Regions from separate parts of the Homo sapiens genome. Here regions 2, 3, 4 and 5 are each linked to region 1. Evidence: promoter capture Hi-C in human tissues and cell types (Jung and others, 2019). All regions are on one chromosome and are shown on one strand. The core of a region is centred on a gene start or on the middle of the fragment in contact, and the rest is flanking DNA. Distances in the headings are between cores, read along the strand shown. Region 1 holds the start of UQCC1 (ubiquinol-cytochrome c reductase complex assembly factor 1). Region 2 overlaps CPNE1 (copine 1). Region 3 overlaps MMP24-AS1-EDEM2 (MMP24-AS1-EDEM2 readthrough). Region 4 holds the start of MMP24 (matrix metallopeptidase 24). Region 5 overlaps MMP24-AS1-EDEM2 (MMP24-AS1-EDEM2 readthrough).

Region 1 (2,828 bases), core at 114-2,613:
CAGGAGAATTGCTTGAACCCGGGAGCAGAAGTTGCAGTGAGCCCGAGATGGCACCACTGCACTCCAGCTTCGGCGACAGAGCAAGACTCTGCCTCAAAAAAAAAAAAAAAAAAAACAAAACCCTAAAGGGTGGCAGGGGAAGGATTAAAAAAAAAAAAAAAAAAAAAACCACTAAATTCAGAACATTCTAATTGCCATTTCCCCAGCAGTCCTCATTTCTGAATCAATTTCTGGCCTGAAATCAAACAATCACTTCACCAGGTGAATCTTTCTGGCAGTTACAGGGGCTACTCTACAAATAAATATTTACTGAACAGCAGTCGAGGGTACCTCACTCTGCTAGGCTGGCAAGGAATACAAGAAGTAAAACTGTCGTCCTTGTAAGACATATATAAAAAGATCAAAAACACAAATGTAAAATAACAATTCAGAAGTTACCTAGACACAGGAATAGACCATGTCTACTATGAAAAACAGTGTCTTTGACCCAGTTTTTGAAGACTCGCTAAAACTATACACTCTCCCATCCCTCCATGATTAAAAACTAAGCTCTGTATCCTAACGTTTTTTCTGCTGCCACTTTCTTTTCTCCTTTAATTGCTAGAGAAAAGAGTATGCTAGAAGGGTCAGGACTAAATCTCAAGAGGTGCAGTAGTTTCACACACGGGTGCTAAAGAGTCTGGTAGTCTTTCCTTACTTCATTCATTTATTCAACAAGTAATCATTTAACACCTATGATGTGCCAGACACCATGCTAGGCAAAGTGAAAACGACGGAGACAGACATGACTCCAATTCTCACGCAGCTTTCAATCTAATAATCTATATTCCACTTAACTGTACAGTTAAGAACTGACTTATTACCTATGAAAGAAACCCTGAGAATCTCAGAATCTAAAGGGACTGCAGGAGATAAATGTCCTCGTTTTTCACATAGGGTCAATGAGGCCCAAAAGTGACTTGCTTAAAGTCACTATGCATCAGTGACAGTCAGGGACTAGAACCCAGGCCTCCTGAAACTCCAATCAGTGTCCTACATGCTCCTCTCCCTGAGGGGAAGCAGGTACATGGGGGAGGGAAGGAAAAGTAAACCCCATCAAATAAAGGCCAGATGTCAGTCTTCCCCTTCTCGAAAGATGGGGGAGCTAAGGTCAAAACGGGGTAGGAAGAGGTCGGAAGCTGCCTCAGTTTCCCCACGGAAAAGCGGCCACTCAGCCTAGCTATAACACAGGCTTCCCTCCTGCGATTCCTTCCAATTCCTCCCGCCCTGCCTTGTCGAACTCCAACCCGGGACCCAGAGAGCTACCGTAGAAAATTACTCCTTCACTCACAAGGACTCGCACCAGCAACGCCATGTTCCTCAATAACCATTTCCGGGTGAAGAGTGAGTTTCCGGTGTCCCCTTTTCTACGTCCTCCTTTTGCCGGCGAAAGACTGGCAAGGGGGGCGCAGGCGCAAAGAGGTCGCTACGCGCACGCGCTGTTGTTTTCTCGGCTGTGCACCAGGCTGTCGTGCCCGGGCACGCTCTCCCTGCTGTCTCCCCCACTACACGTAACAGTGGTTCAAATCCTTCCCCCACGCCTGTCTCCTTGACCCCAGACCTCGGGGCTTCTCATATCCCTCTCTTTATTCCCCACCTAACCCAGCCTCACTCCTCAGCCCCTCCTTCCCAAACTCCACCCCAACACTTTTCAATGGAGGTTGAAAAGAACAGGACTTTAGGAAATCCCAATCTTTAGAAAGAGCCAGAAGACCGGGCGCGGTGGCTCACGCCTGTAATCCCAGCACTTTGGGAGGCCGAGGCGGGCGGATCACCTGAGATCAGGAGTTCGAGACTAGCCTGGCCAACATGGCAAAACCCCGTCCCTAACTAAAAATACAAAGAAAGTAGCCGGGCATGTTGGTGTGTGCCTGTAATCCCAGCTACTCTGAAGGCAGAGGTTGCAGTGAGCCGAGATCGCGCCACTGCACTCCAGCCTGGGCGACAGAGCAGGACTGGACTCTGTCTCAAAAAAAAAAAAAAAAAAAAAAAAAAAAAAGCCAGAGAAGGAGGCTAAGATAAAAGAATACGGGGGATACCAGACTCCTGAAAGTCAAGGCAAGAAGGCGGTCATGTGCCGATCTGAAGCCTGGTAGAGGAAGAAACTTTTGGGATTTGTGGTTGGTTGGTTGTTTAAGGGAAACATCTTTGCATATTGATAGGAAAAGATTAGTGAAGAGTATACAGGGCCGTGCCCGGTGGCTCATGCCTGTAATCCCAACACTTTGGGAGGCCGAGGCAGGTGGATTGCCTGAGGTCAGGAGTTCAAGACCAGCCTGACCAATATGGTGAAACCCCGTCTCTACTGAAAATACGAAAAAAATTAGCCGGGCATGGTGGCGTGTGCCTGTAATCCCAGCTACTTGGGAGGCTGAGGCAGGGAATCGCTTGAACCCGGGAGGCAGAGGTTGCAGTGAGCTGAGACTGGGGCACTGAACTCCAGCCTGGGTGACAAAGCGAGACTCCGTCTCAAAAAAAAAAAAAAAAAAAGAGTATACAGGAGAATCAATCAAAGAGGCAAGGAGCTTCTTGAGGAAAGTGGCAGAGAACGGCCTTGGTAGAAGACTCCTCTTCCATTACATCCCAAGAGAAGAGAAGACAAAGTACTGGTGCTTTGGGGGTTGAGGGAGCAGAGGGGCAGGATGTTGAAGGACTTCTTTCATTTCATTCAGTCAACAAAGACCTATTGAGTCTTCCCTATGTGCTGAACACAAGACATACTGGCTTCATGGAGTTCTTAGACTGGTGGGGGAGGCATAGGAACCCAGTGAAAAAAATTAAAACTGGGG
Region 2 (2,828 bases), core at 184-2,683, 240 kb after region 1:
CAAATGAGTCAATTAGACAAACAAAGCAGCAACTTCTGAAGCAGGACTGTCTATACAGCAAGGACCCTTAAGAAGCAATAAAGGTACATACAATGAATCTGTATACAGAAATTTTATTCAATTTTAAAAGAAAATGAGGACTTTAGACAAAGCTTTACCCTATAACAAAGCAAATCTGTCCAGCTTTAAACCAAATTCTGAGAGTAGCCAACTTCTATTTTCAGCAGCTGGCAAGAGCACCCTCAATGAGTTCTACTGACATTTCTATTTTCTTCATCCCATATGGTATAAAACAAAACCAATCTAGACTCCTTGATAAGCTTTATGTGGTCATTTGAGTTTTACAAATGGTTTCTCTAATGGTATGCCAAAATCATTTATGTGTTCTCTCCAGATAGCTTTACTGTAACATACAGCAATGTTTATCCTGGTGAGTGAGTCTTCTGTAAACAGTCAACCAATGCTCTATGTTATGGAAACCAAGCTATATGCAATTGAAACAATCCACAGGTTCTAACCTGGAAATACTAGGAAAACAATCTGGATGCATTAATCACAGCAATATGAAGATCTACCCTATAAAAAATGATGTGAATGGCTACCCTAATACAAGTTTTACTTTTCTTGAACCTATAGGCCTGTCATTTAAGTCAATGACAGCAGCTGTGGCTTCATCCCGAGACTCAAAGGCCACCATGGCTTCACCTGTGGGCATACCTTTTTCATTGTATTTTAAACACACTGAGCCTGGGATTACTTGATAGCCATAAAAGAAATCTAAAATCTCATCAATAGACACAGTAAAGGGCATGTTTTGCACTTTAATTACTGTCGGTCCTGGTTTTCCAGAACTAGATGCAAAGCCAGGGGGACCACCAATATGGATTGGGCCAGGGCCGGGGCCGGGGCCGGGGCCAGGCCCAAAAGCTGGTGGCCCACCCAAATGCCCAGGGGCACTTCCAAGACCAGGAGGGCCACTTCCAAACCCCGGGGGACCGCCTAAGCTACCAGGGCCATTTCCAAAATTCTGAGGGCCCCCTCCAAATCCCGATGGCCCACTTAAATTGTTTGGTCCACCTCCAAAACCCGGAACATCCAGTCCTAGACCAGGCAAACCACTGTTTCCAACTGAAGGCATACCAGGCCTAGCATCACCAAAGGCCCCGCCTCCTAATCCTGGAGGAGGGATTGGTGGCCCAAAGGCATTTGATCCACCAAAATTACCAGGAAAGTTAAATGGAGGCCCATTATTGGCTTCCTTTGATCCTACAGTCAGGAAGGCATGCTCTTCACCTCCTGCACTAGGTATTCCTGCACTGGGCATTCCCGCACCAGGCAGTCCTGCACTGGTTATTGCTGAACCAGGCAGTCCTGTGCTGGGCAGGCCTGCACCGGGAAGTCCTGCACTGGGCAGTCCCACACCGGGCAGTCCCGCATTGGGCATTCCTGGAACTGCAGGATTACCTGGCACAGGCATCTTTAATCCCTTTTTTCCTTGGGCAGGGGGATTTTTCTCAATCTCTCTCATATCTTCTAGGGTAACTACATGAACAAAAGCTTCTCTCCCATTAAGTTTTTTACGGTGTAAGCGTTCAGACTTACGTGCATCATCTTCATTTTTAAACTGAACCAATGCCTGTCCTAGACCTTGCCCATTGTTATCAACAAGAACATGTACAGCATTTTCATCCACTGGGATTCCTTCTAGGAACTGAAGAACATCCATCTTTGTAATGCTGAATGGAATATTTGTTATGTGGGCACAGACTTTGGCAGAGTTGACATCCCCCTCTGGATTTAGTATCATTTCCCTCTGGTCATAGCTGAAGTTCTGCAGTCTTTTTCGAATCATATCTATCTTTTCTAGCATACCTTTCTTAGTAATTGGATGAACTTGAATAAAGCGATTGCCCATGTACTGTTTATGACGACACAGAGCAGCCTTATAGTCAGCCTCATTTCTGAACTCTACAAAGCCTTCGCCAGTTGCTTTCCCATTGGGTCCATAAGCTATATAAATACTATCTTCCACAATATCCAGCTTTTTAAAAAAATCAATGACATGTTTGTTTTCTGCTTCAAATGGTAGCCCTTTCAAGTAAACACAAAAACCAGCCTCATGTGGTGATCTTGACCTTGATCTTTTCTGCCCACTGGGCGATTTTGACCTGGGAAGTGTCTGAGGAGGGGGATGAGTTTGTCCAGAAGGTCCCATATTTTGCTTAAAAGTGATATGGCCTCCAGCAGCTACCCACTGTCTTTCTGTGGCAGGGCTAACTTCCACATAGCGTTGAATCATCAGCATTCTGTTTCGTTTCAAAGCTTCAAATGTATCTTGAGGGGAGAGAAACTTAACCAATCCATTCCCATTATTTCGACCTACATGATCTTTCAACAAATGCACTGCATCAACACGGAGCCCATGAAAAAAATCTCTGACATCATTTTCCATTGCAGAAAAGGGCATTCCATGCACACTGACATACAGATCATCAGGGTTGATGGGGAGTGGCTTCACACTGCTCTGAGAGTTCATCTGGATAGGGTTAACAGGATTCAACGGACCAAGAAACATAGGATTCAGATTATTGTTCAAATTCATAGGTGCTCCAGAGCCATTCATTCCAGCAGGTAGAGGTGCCACAGGTGGCGGATTCAAGGGCGGCATGCCCGACATGGGTGGCAGTGGGGTCATGGGTGGCACAGAAGGAACTGGGGGAATCGGGGGCACAGGAGGCACAGGAGGCAATGTAGGTACTGGAGGAGGAACTGGAATTGGGGGAATGGATGGCATTGGTGGCAGAGATGGCATCGCTGGAATTGGAGGA
Region 3 (2,828 bases), core at 129-2,628, 220 kb before region 1:
GACCTCATGATCCACCTACCTCAGCATCCCAAAGTGCTGGGATTACAGGCTGTGAACCACCGTGCCCAGCAATCTTTTCTTCTCCAGATTAAACATCTTACTTTCTTCAAGGGTTCCTTATTTGATGTGGCAGTTCAGTAACCTGCTATTGTTCTTCTGGACTTGTTACAATTTGTCAATTTCTCATGCATTTATTTAAAAAAATTTATTGAGTCGGGTCACTAGAATTACTAAATAAGAAAAAGAAAATTATTGAGTGACTTCTATGGTTCAGACGCTGTTTTAGGACGTGGGAATAGAGCAATATAGCAGAGAACAAAAACAAAGTCTGTCTTAGAAGCTACAGTTTACTGGGAGGGACAGACCCTAAACAAATAATTTTTTTTTAATGTCAGAGATAATTAGTAGGAAATAGGTAGAAAAATAAGGAAGGTCGAAGGGAGAATAACTGAGTTGCTGTTTTAGACAGCATAATCAGGGCAGGCCTCTGGAATAAGATGACAGTTGAGCAGAGATATGAAGGAAGTGCAAGAGTGGCCAGGGGAAGAACAAGCCAATTTAGATAGACCGAACAAGTGCAAAAGCTCTGAGGAGTAAGCTTGGTTTATTTCATGAACAAGGAGGCCAGTTTATCTGAAGTGGTACAGGCAAAGAGAAGAGAAAGAGCAGGAGGCAAATAACCGAGGGCCTAATAAGCCAATTATCTGTACTTTGCTATTTGTTCTGAGTGAGATGGAAAGGCATTGGAGGCTTTCGAGAAGAGGACTGACGTGATTTGACTTGCATTTGAAAAGCATCACTATGGCTACCATGGGGGGAAACAAAGTTTAAAAGGCAAAGAAATACTCAGGGACCTCCAAGGATACTCATACATTCCTGTTAGGAGGCAATAATATGGGTGAAAAATGATGGTGGCAAGGACAAGGGTGATACCACTACTTACCCATTACCCATCAGAATAGTCAGAAAGAAAAAGACAAACAAGGAAGGAAAGAAAAGACAGTATTGGCAAGGATACAGGCCAATTAGAACTTTCCTACACTGCTGTTGGTAAGGTAAATTGATATGAAACAACCACTGTTTAGAAAACCGCAGTATCTACTAAAGTTGAACATCTGCCTCCTAGGCATATGCCTAACAGAAACGTTTACCTATGTTCACTGAAAGACATATACAAGATTAGTCATAGCTGTAAGAATTAAAGAAAGAAGAGAGAAACACGAAGGGCGGCTCGACAGTCAACAGGGACAGGTTTATTCTGAATAAACTTGAGTGGGGCAGCTGGCCAAGTTAGGTCAGAGCCACACTCTCTTACAGACTAAGTGTTTTTAAGGATTCAGGGTGGGAGAATTTATCAGAGGCTTGGACTGCTTCTGTGTTTCTTTGTTGTGCTTATCTGGGAGGGAAAGTTGTGTGTCTGTTCCCATACATCTTTCTGCAGCTGCAGGCATATCCCCCGGGTTGCTTTTAGCTTCCCTATCTTAGTGCACCTGAAGGGAAAGGAATGTGCTTATTAGGGCCTACTGTTTTACTGGGAGCCATCGTATGAGGGTGAAGTTTGGCAGTTACCCAGGAGACTTTCCCCCCACCTCCCTCTGTACCCAAGCTGTCTTATCTATGTTTTACTGTCTGCTCTTTCTATTTGTACTTAGAAGAGAGTGATTTCCTTGAAATGCACGAGGCTAGAAAGGGAGCTGGAACTTAAAGTGGCAGTGTTTGTTCGAGATGACAGTGCTCCTGCTCTGTCAATAGCAGTATTCTTTGTAATATCCCCAACTAAAAAGTACCCAAACACCATCAAGAATAGAATAATGAAACAAATTATACTATATTTACATAATGGAATATACAACGAGAGTAGAAAAACTTAAACTACAAGTCTTAATATAAGTGAATGTCACAAATATAATATTGATCAAAAGAAGCCAAACACAAAAAAGTATAAACTATATGATTACATTTATATAAATTTCAAAGACACACAGAACTAACCTGTGGTGTTAGAAGCCAGGATATTGGTTACATTTGGGAAGCTAATGATTAGAAGGGAGACATGAGGGCTTCTGAGGCAATGCCCTGTTTCTTTCTTTCTTTTTTTTTTTTTTTTAAGATGGAGTCTCGCTCTGTCACCAGGCTGGAGTGTAGTGGCGCAATCTCGGCTCACTGCAACCTCCACCTCCCAGGTTCAAGCCATTCTCCTGCCACAGCCCCCCGAGTAGTTGGGCCTACAGGCGCATGCCACCACGCCCAGCTAATTTTTGTACTTTTAGTAGAGACGGGGTTTCACTGTGTTGGCCAGGATGGTCTTGATCTCTTGACCTCGTGATCTGCCTGCCTCAGCCTCCCAGAGTGCTGGGATTACAGGCATGAGCCACCGCACCTGGCCTGCCCTGTTTCTTAATCTGGATGCTGGCTATATCAATAGGCTCACTTTGTGAACATTCACTAAGTTGTACATTTATAATTTGAGCACTTTCCTGTATCAGTGTTATGCCTCAATAAAGTTTACATTACAAAGGAATGACTCAGAGGTTTTGATCTGTGCAACTGGAGGCTATAATTGACATTTATTGAAATGGGGAAGCTATAGAAGAAGCAGGTTTTGGTGGGAAATGCATTCATTATGTACATACTACATTTGATATTTATTAGACATCCAAGTTGAAATGCTGATAGAATGCAGTTGGTATACAAGTCTGCAGTTGAGGGAAATGTCTAGGCTGAAGACCTAAATTTGAGAGCTCACTATATAGATAACATGTAAACTCATAAAGCTGGATGGGATCACCTAAGGAATAGTCTAGACAGAGAAAACATTCAAGTACTAA
Region 4 (2,828 bases), core at 164-2,663, 190 kb before region 1:
ACTAACATGGAATATCTATTAAGTGTCAAGCACCTCATGCTGAAAGCAATCTTATACAGTAATAGTAGCATCATTTTATAAAAATGGAACAGAGCCAAGATATGAACATAGGTCTGACGCTAAAGCCTGTGCCCTTTTTTCATCTCCAAATTACCACGTAATCATAAAATACTATTTTCACACATCATCCTGCTTAAACACACACATACACACACACACACCACACACACACAACCTTTAATGACCACCCTCCCCCATTTTCCTTCAGAACACAACCCAAATTTATTATCCTAGCATTCACTGTCTTGTACAACTTCCCTCACTTCCCAACACTTTCCTATAGGAACCCTGTGCTCCAGAGAAACTTATCTGCCGCCTCAGGCACATCCTGTACACCCTCAACTTCCTCCCTGAAATGCCCTCTCCTCTCCCCTCCCCTGGTTTAAATCCAGCCTTTCCTTCAGGTCCTAGCTAGAGTCCCACCCTCCTCCATTACACTTTTTCCTAACTTCCCCAGCCCCTCATCAGGTCTCCCTCGACCCCTGGAGCAGCCGCCTGTATCCTTGTTGACACGTGGTGTTTGCCATTCTGTTTTTCTTTGCGTTTATGTTTTCTCATCAAGCTGTAAACCTCTGCACTCCAGGAAATCGGCCTTCTCTTTTTTGTTTTTGTTTTTGGGTGTTTTTTTTTTTCCTTTCAGCATCCCAAGTAGCCCAGAGCCCTACAAATAGAAAGCGCTTGATAAATATGGGTTGTTTTGGATGAAAGATGATCTTCCCAGCTGGATGAGCTCTTTCCCTCTAGGGGTGAGGGACTGAGCTTCACCTCAACTTCACCTAATGTCTCACAGGAATGCCCCCTCTTAAACGCTCCTCAGGTCTTCTCTACCCCTTTCCCCCACCACCCCGGCCCAGGAGAGCCACTCAGAGCTCCCTCTCCGGAGTCACCCTCTCAGACCCAGGGCTATTTCTTTAGCTTGCTCTCGAACCCCGCCTTTACCCCAGAGCCGCTCCTCAGTCTCCTCCCCCAGGCTGCCTCTCAGGCCCCCTCTCCTCCAATGCCACTCCCTAGGACCCTCTCCCCAGGGTTCCGGACCCCCAACCCCGGATATGTTCCCCCAGGGCCATCCAGTTGTTCTACCTCCAGGATTACTGATTTAGCCTCTTCCCCCTCCTGCTCAGGGCTACCCCCAGACCCCGACCTCCAGTTCCACCCCTTCGGACCCTGCCTCTAGAACTGTTCTTTTAGCCTCTGCAACCCCCTCCCCAGCGCCGCTCCGCGGCCCCTGCCCCAGGGCTGGTCGGGGAGCCACTGCCCTCGCAGGTCCCGCCCGGGTGCTGCCCCCGCGCCCCCGGCCGCCCCCCACCGGGGCGGGGCGCGCGGAGGCGGGGGCGCGCTGGCGGCCGAGGCGGCGGCGGCGGCGGCGAAGGCAGGCGGGCCGGGCGCGGGCCCCGCCGCCGGGATGCCGAGGAGCCGGGGCGGCCGCGCCGCGCCGGGGCCGCCGCCGCCGCCGCCGCCGCCGGGCCAGGCCCCGCGCTGGAGCCGCTGGCGGGTCCCTGGGCGGCTGCTGCTGCTGCTGCTGCCCGCGCTCTGCTGCCTCCCGGGCGCCGCGCGGGCGGCGGCGGCGGCGGCGGGGGCAGGGAACCGGGCAGCGGTGGCGGTGGCGGTGGCGCGGGCGGACGAGGCGGAGGCGCCCTTCGCCGGGCAGGTGGGGCTGGCGCGCGGGGCCGGGGCGCGGGCTCGGGGCATCCGGGCAGGGCGGGGGGCGGCACCGGGGACGGGCCTGGGCCGGGCCGCACCTACTGCCGAGGTCGCGGAGGCGGCGCGCCGGGGGTCCGCGCCTTGGGTCCGGGCTGGCGCGGCCCAGGGCGGGGGCTGGGGAGGGCCTCGCCGAGGGCCGCCGAGGCCGGGAGCTGCTTCAGCACCGCGGACAGGGGCAGCGGGCGGGGGCCGAGCACGAGGGTCGGGTTTGTTGTGTTGGCAGTGGGGTGTGTGGCCTGCATGACTATGTGCGAGGGAAACCGTACAACGCCTCGGAGTAAATAGTAAGCGCAGCCAGTCTGTTGTGGGTTGGGAGAAGAAACCGAGGATGTTCAAGCTGGAGAAGGGGGAGGGGGAGGGCGGAGGAAGGACTCGATCACTGTCTTCGTAGCTGAAGGGCTGTCAGGTGGAGGTAGGATAGACTTGTTCTAGCTTGGCCCCACAGGGCAGAACTAGGGCCAGCGGGAGTGGGGGTTGCAAGAAGACAAATTTGGGCTCGATATAGGAAGAAGTTTGTAACAATTGGAGCTGCTCAACCAGCTTAGGAGGCGGCGAGCTGCTCATCACTGGCATGTGCAAGTAAAAGCTCTCGGAGGGGATTGGATGGAGGCATGCATAATGCTTGCATGGATGCATACATCATCATCACAATAATGCCAGCTAGCATTTACTGAACACTCACTATGTGCCAGGCCTGGTGCTATGTTTTATACGAATTATCCAATTCAATCCTCATAACTACTCTATGAAATAGCTGCAATTATTATCCCCATTTTACAGATGGGGATACAGACTCAAAGAGCTTAAGTAACTTGCCCAAGGTCACACAGCTAGTGAGTGATGGAATTGGAATTCTAACCTAGGCAGGCTGACTCTAGTCTCCCCTTATTTACCCATGACCTTATCCTATATCTCATGGGGGGTGCAGTTGGACTAATTTCTCTAGTATCTTCCAACCTAGAGGACTGCAATATTCTAATAAATGATGTTGGGACAATGGTGTTTTGCTGAGGAAAATCAGAGTGATAGCCTCGCCACCCTAAGAGATGGAGTATATTTGTTGAAGC
Region 5 (2,828 bases), core at 176-2,675, 150 kb before region 1:
CACCTGCCTCAGCAATTATCAACGTTGTGGCATTCCTATTTATCTACCTTTTTTTGGCTGATGTATTTTAAAGAAAATCTCAGGCATTCTAACATTTCACCTTTAAATACTTTAGTATATACCTCTAACAGATAAAGGCTAATTTTTAACATAAGCACACAATCATTATCAAGCCCAACAAAATTAACAATAATTTTTTAAAATCTAATACCCAGTTCGAGTTCACTTTCCCAAAGTACCTTGGAAATGTCTTTTACAGTTGTTTGCTTGAATCAGGATCCAAACAAGATCCACACACACATGGCTGACATGTCTCTTAAAGCCCTTTTTATTTAAAACACCCCCGTCCTACACACACGTTTCCCTCCATATATTTGTTGAAGAAACTGGGTCAGGTGTCCCGAGTATAATCATTTGGCGTGACTAGAATCAAGTTTACTTTTAATACGTCTCTCTTGCCCATAATTCCTGAATGTTGTTCATTAGATTTACAGGCTGACTAGATTCAAGTTCAATTTTTTTGGCAAGAATACTTCCTAGGTGGTGCTGGTACTTCCTATTCACCATATTAGCAAATACATATGATGCAGACTGTCCCACTTTTAGTGATGTTGAGGTCGAGCATTTGCTTCAGGTTGTGTCAGCCTGACCCAACCATTATACAATTCACCTGGAGAACTTAAAAAAAAAAAACAACAAAAAAGATTGCCTACGTCCCAAACCAAACCTCCTGAATCAGAATATCTTCCCCACCTCCTCCATGTGTTTAAAAGGCTCCCCGGGCCAGGTGCGATGGGAGCACTGGAGTAATCCCAGCACTTTGGGAGGCCGAGGGGGGGCAGATCACCTGAGGTCAGGAGTTCGAGACCAGCCTGGCCAACATGGCAAAACCCCGTCTCTACTAAAAATACAAAAATTAGCCGGGTGTGGTGGCACATGCCTGTAATCCCAGCTACTCGGGAGGCTGAGGCAGGAGAATGGCTTGAACCCGGGAGGCGGAGGTTCAAGTGAGCCGAGATTGCACCACTACACTCCAACCTGGGTGACAGAGTGAGATCCTGTCTCAAAAATAAAAAAGAAAGAAAATACTTTTTAAAAAAATAGGAAATTCACCCCTTTGGAAAGTGGCAGAGCCAGGTGTGACCCCAGGACTCCGCATTTTTAAGTCACCACAGGTGGTTCTGCTGCAGGTGGTCCGAGTATTTCCCTTGGTAAAATACGGTGCTTTTGGCGCTGTTCCATTCCGGGGGCTGTCACCTGGTTCTTCAACACAAAGCTTGTCCTCAAGGAACCCACAGTCCTGGGGCAGCGAGCATGTGCACTAGTGGCAATCACGTGGGGAGGAAGCGGTCAGTGCCATAAAGGCAGTTCAGGGAAACTGCTGGGAGGGCACAGCAGAAGGAGCACTCACTGCCAGCTGGGAAGTCATGGAAGGCTTCCTGGAAGACAGGCATGGAGCTGAACTTTGAAGGAATCAGGTTATTCCAGGGGAAGGGGCAGCACTGGCAGAAGAACAGAGGCAAAGGGAAATGCTATCACCTTTCGTGGGGCTGGGGGAGTTAATGAGATGGGAACGACCAAATATGGAGATCCTAAAAGAAAGAAATGAGGCAGAGACAAGGTCCACTTGAGTAGCCGAGTAGACTGCTGGGGACTTGCTCGGAGGCCCAGGGACTTACAGGAACACACCCTATCAGGGGTGCTGGTGCTCACACACAGCTCAACAGGACCCTGCTAATGAAGGGTAATACTTCTGTACCAGGAGCTGGTATCAGCGCATTACACACCCTGCCCCATGAATCTTCACCCACATCCCTATGACGAAGGTGCCATTGTTCCTTCTATCTTCCAGAGGAAGAATTTAAAATGTCACACTGCTAGGACATGGCAGAGCTGGGATTCAAAACCAGGCAGTCTGGCTCCCAGAGACTGCATTCCTGACCACTCTGCTTCCCTGCCGCTCACCCTCTTGAAGAGTGAAGACCCTAGCAGCCTCCTGCCCATGGAGCATGGGGTCCTCATAGCAGGCCTCTCCTCCTCATACCTCTGCCTTCACCTCACAAGCTCAGGGAGTCCTCCTGCCCCTGCCCTGCTCCCTCTGTCTCCCCCTCAGGGCTCTCTTGGGTTTCTGTGCAGCAGGATACTGGCTCCCTCGCTCTTCCCTTCCTTTTGGTTCCTGGACCCAAACCACAGGCCTCTTTCCTTTAAGGGGTCACTCCTGTTCTCTGCAGACCCAGAACAGGGGTTAAAAGAGCAAGAGACAAGGCTGCGGACAAAGGTTTTGAGTCTCCCACAGTGCTCAGAGCCGTGTTCCCTGGTTCCCAGCTGAGCTCCCTGTGGACAGCCCCTGGGGAAGAGCCTGCTCAGGAGACAGAGGCCCTGAACAGCTTGTCCCAGGTCATAGAATAGCCCAGGAGCACAGCCAGGACTGGACCCCAGGAAGCAGAGCTGCCTTCCGCTGGCTCTACCAGTTTGTTTGGGATGGAGCTCAGCGATGAGCTCACCCTTCCCTGCTGCCAGAGGGGCCAGGACCTGAGTAAGGAGCTGGGGGCGGCCTGGCCCTCTCATGCCAGCAGAAGGCCAGCCCCAGGCTTTTGGCCAACCTTGCACTGATCTTGCCCATCCCCCTTCCTTTCCGTTGCTCAAAGGTGGCTTCACAGAAGACACTGGCGGTGTCAGTAGTGTGGGAGGCATGTACTGCCCGTGGCCTGGGTCTGCCCCATGGGGTTCTTCTCTCTTCCAGAGACCTAAGCCAGGAAGGCCAAACAATCCCCACCCCCATGTGTCCCTAGGCCAGTGACGCTGGGGCCAGAGTGGGCAGTAGGACT

The links. The method cuts DNA at HindIII sites, captures the fragments that hold promoters and counts their contacts. A contact is called where the count stands out against the background at its distance.
Region 2: a contact is called between a fragment that was not itself captured here and the fragment with the promoter of UQCC1 in region 1, in 1 of the 25 tissues and cell types used here (hippocampus).
Region 3: a contact is called between a fragment that was not itself captured here and the fragment with the promoter of UQCC1 in region 1, in 2 of the 25 tissues and cell types used here (aorta and lymphoblastoid cells).
Region 4: the fragment with the promoter of MMP24 here is called in contact with the fragment with the promoter of UQCC1 in region 1 in 3 of the 25 tissues and cell types used here (IMR-90 fibroblasts, aorta and mesenchymal stem cells).
Region 5: a contact is called between a fragment that was not itself captured here and the fragment with the promoter of UQCC1 in region 1, in 6 of the 25 tissues and cell types used here (aorta, bladder, dorsolateral prefrontal cortex and 3 more).

Annotation. Positions count from the first base shown.
Region 1 is chr20:35,410,610-35,413,437 of GRCh38, forward strand. It overlaps UQCC1 (ubiquinol-cytochrome c reductase complex assembly factor 1), which reads right to left and starts at 1,364. Exons shown (of 10, transcript NM_018244.5): 1 at 1,331-1,364. The coding sequence starts at 1,354. RefSeq lists enhancers at 696-1,519, 1,110-1,209, 1,270-1,419, 1,520-2,342, 1,550-1,599. The HindIII fragment of the contact is 20,339 bases long and covers 1-2,828 here.
Region 2 is chr20:35,651,926-35,654,753 of GRCh38, forward strand. All of the region lies in intron 1 of CPNE1 (copine 1), which reads right to left. RBM12 (RNA binding motif protein 12) reads right to left here. Exons shown (of 3, transcript NM_006047.6): 3 at 1-2,828. The coding sequence ends at 599. Among named protein-coding and RNA genes, the nearest start is that of CPNE1, 12 kb to the right of the region's middle. The HindIII fragment of the contact is 4,724 bases long and covers 1-2,828 here.
Region 3 is chr20:35,191,088-35,193,915 of GRCh38, forward strand. All of the region lies in intron 4 of MMP24-AS1-EDEM2 (MMP24-AS1-EDEM2 readthrough), which reads right to left. It also overlaps a transcript of PROCR not described here. Among named protein-coding and RNA genes, the nearest start is that of PROCR, 20 kb to the left of the region's middle. The HindIII fragment of the contact is 4,534 bases long and covers 1-2,828 here.
Region 4 is chr20:35,225,277-35,228,104 of GRCh38, forward strand. MMP24 (matrix metallopeptidase 24) reads left to right here and starts at 1,414. Exons shown (of 9, transcript NM_006690.4): 1 at 1,414-1,708. The coding sequence starts at 1,463. All of the region lies in intron 3 of MMP24-AS1-EDEM2 (MMP24-AS1-EDEM2 readthrough), which reads right to left. The HindIII fragment of the contact is 20,114 bases long and covers 1-2,828 here.
Region 5 is chr20:35,258,116-35,260,943 of GRCh38, forward strand. All of the region lies in intron 2 of MMP24-AS1-EDEM2 (MMP24-AS1-EDEM2 readthrough), which reads right to left. All of the region lies in intron 4 of MMP24 (matrix metallopeptidase 24), which reads left to right. Among named protein-coding and RNA genes, the nearest start is that of MMP24-AS1-EDEM2, 19 kb to the right of the region's middle. The HindIII fragment of the contact is 5,720 bases long and covers 1-2,828 here.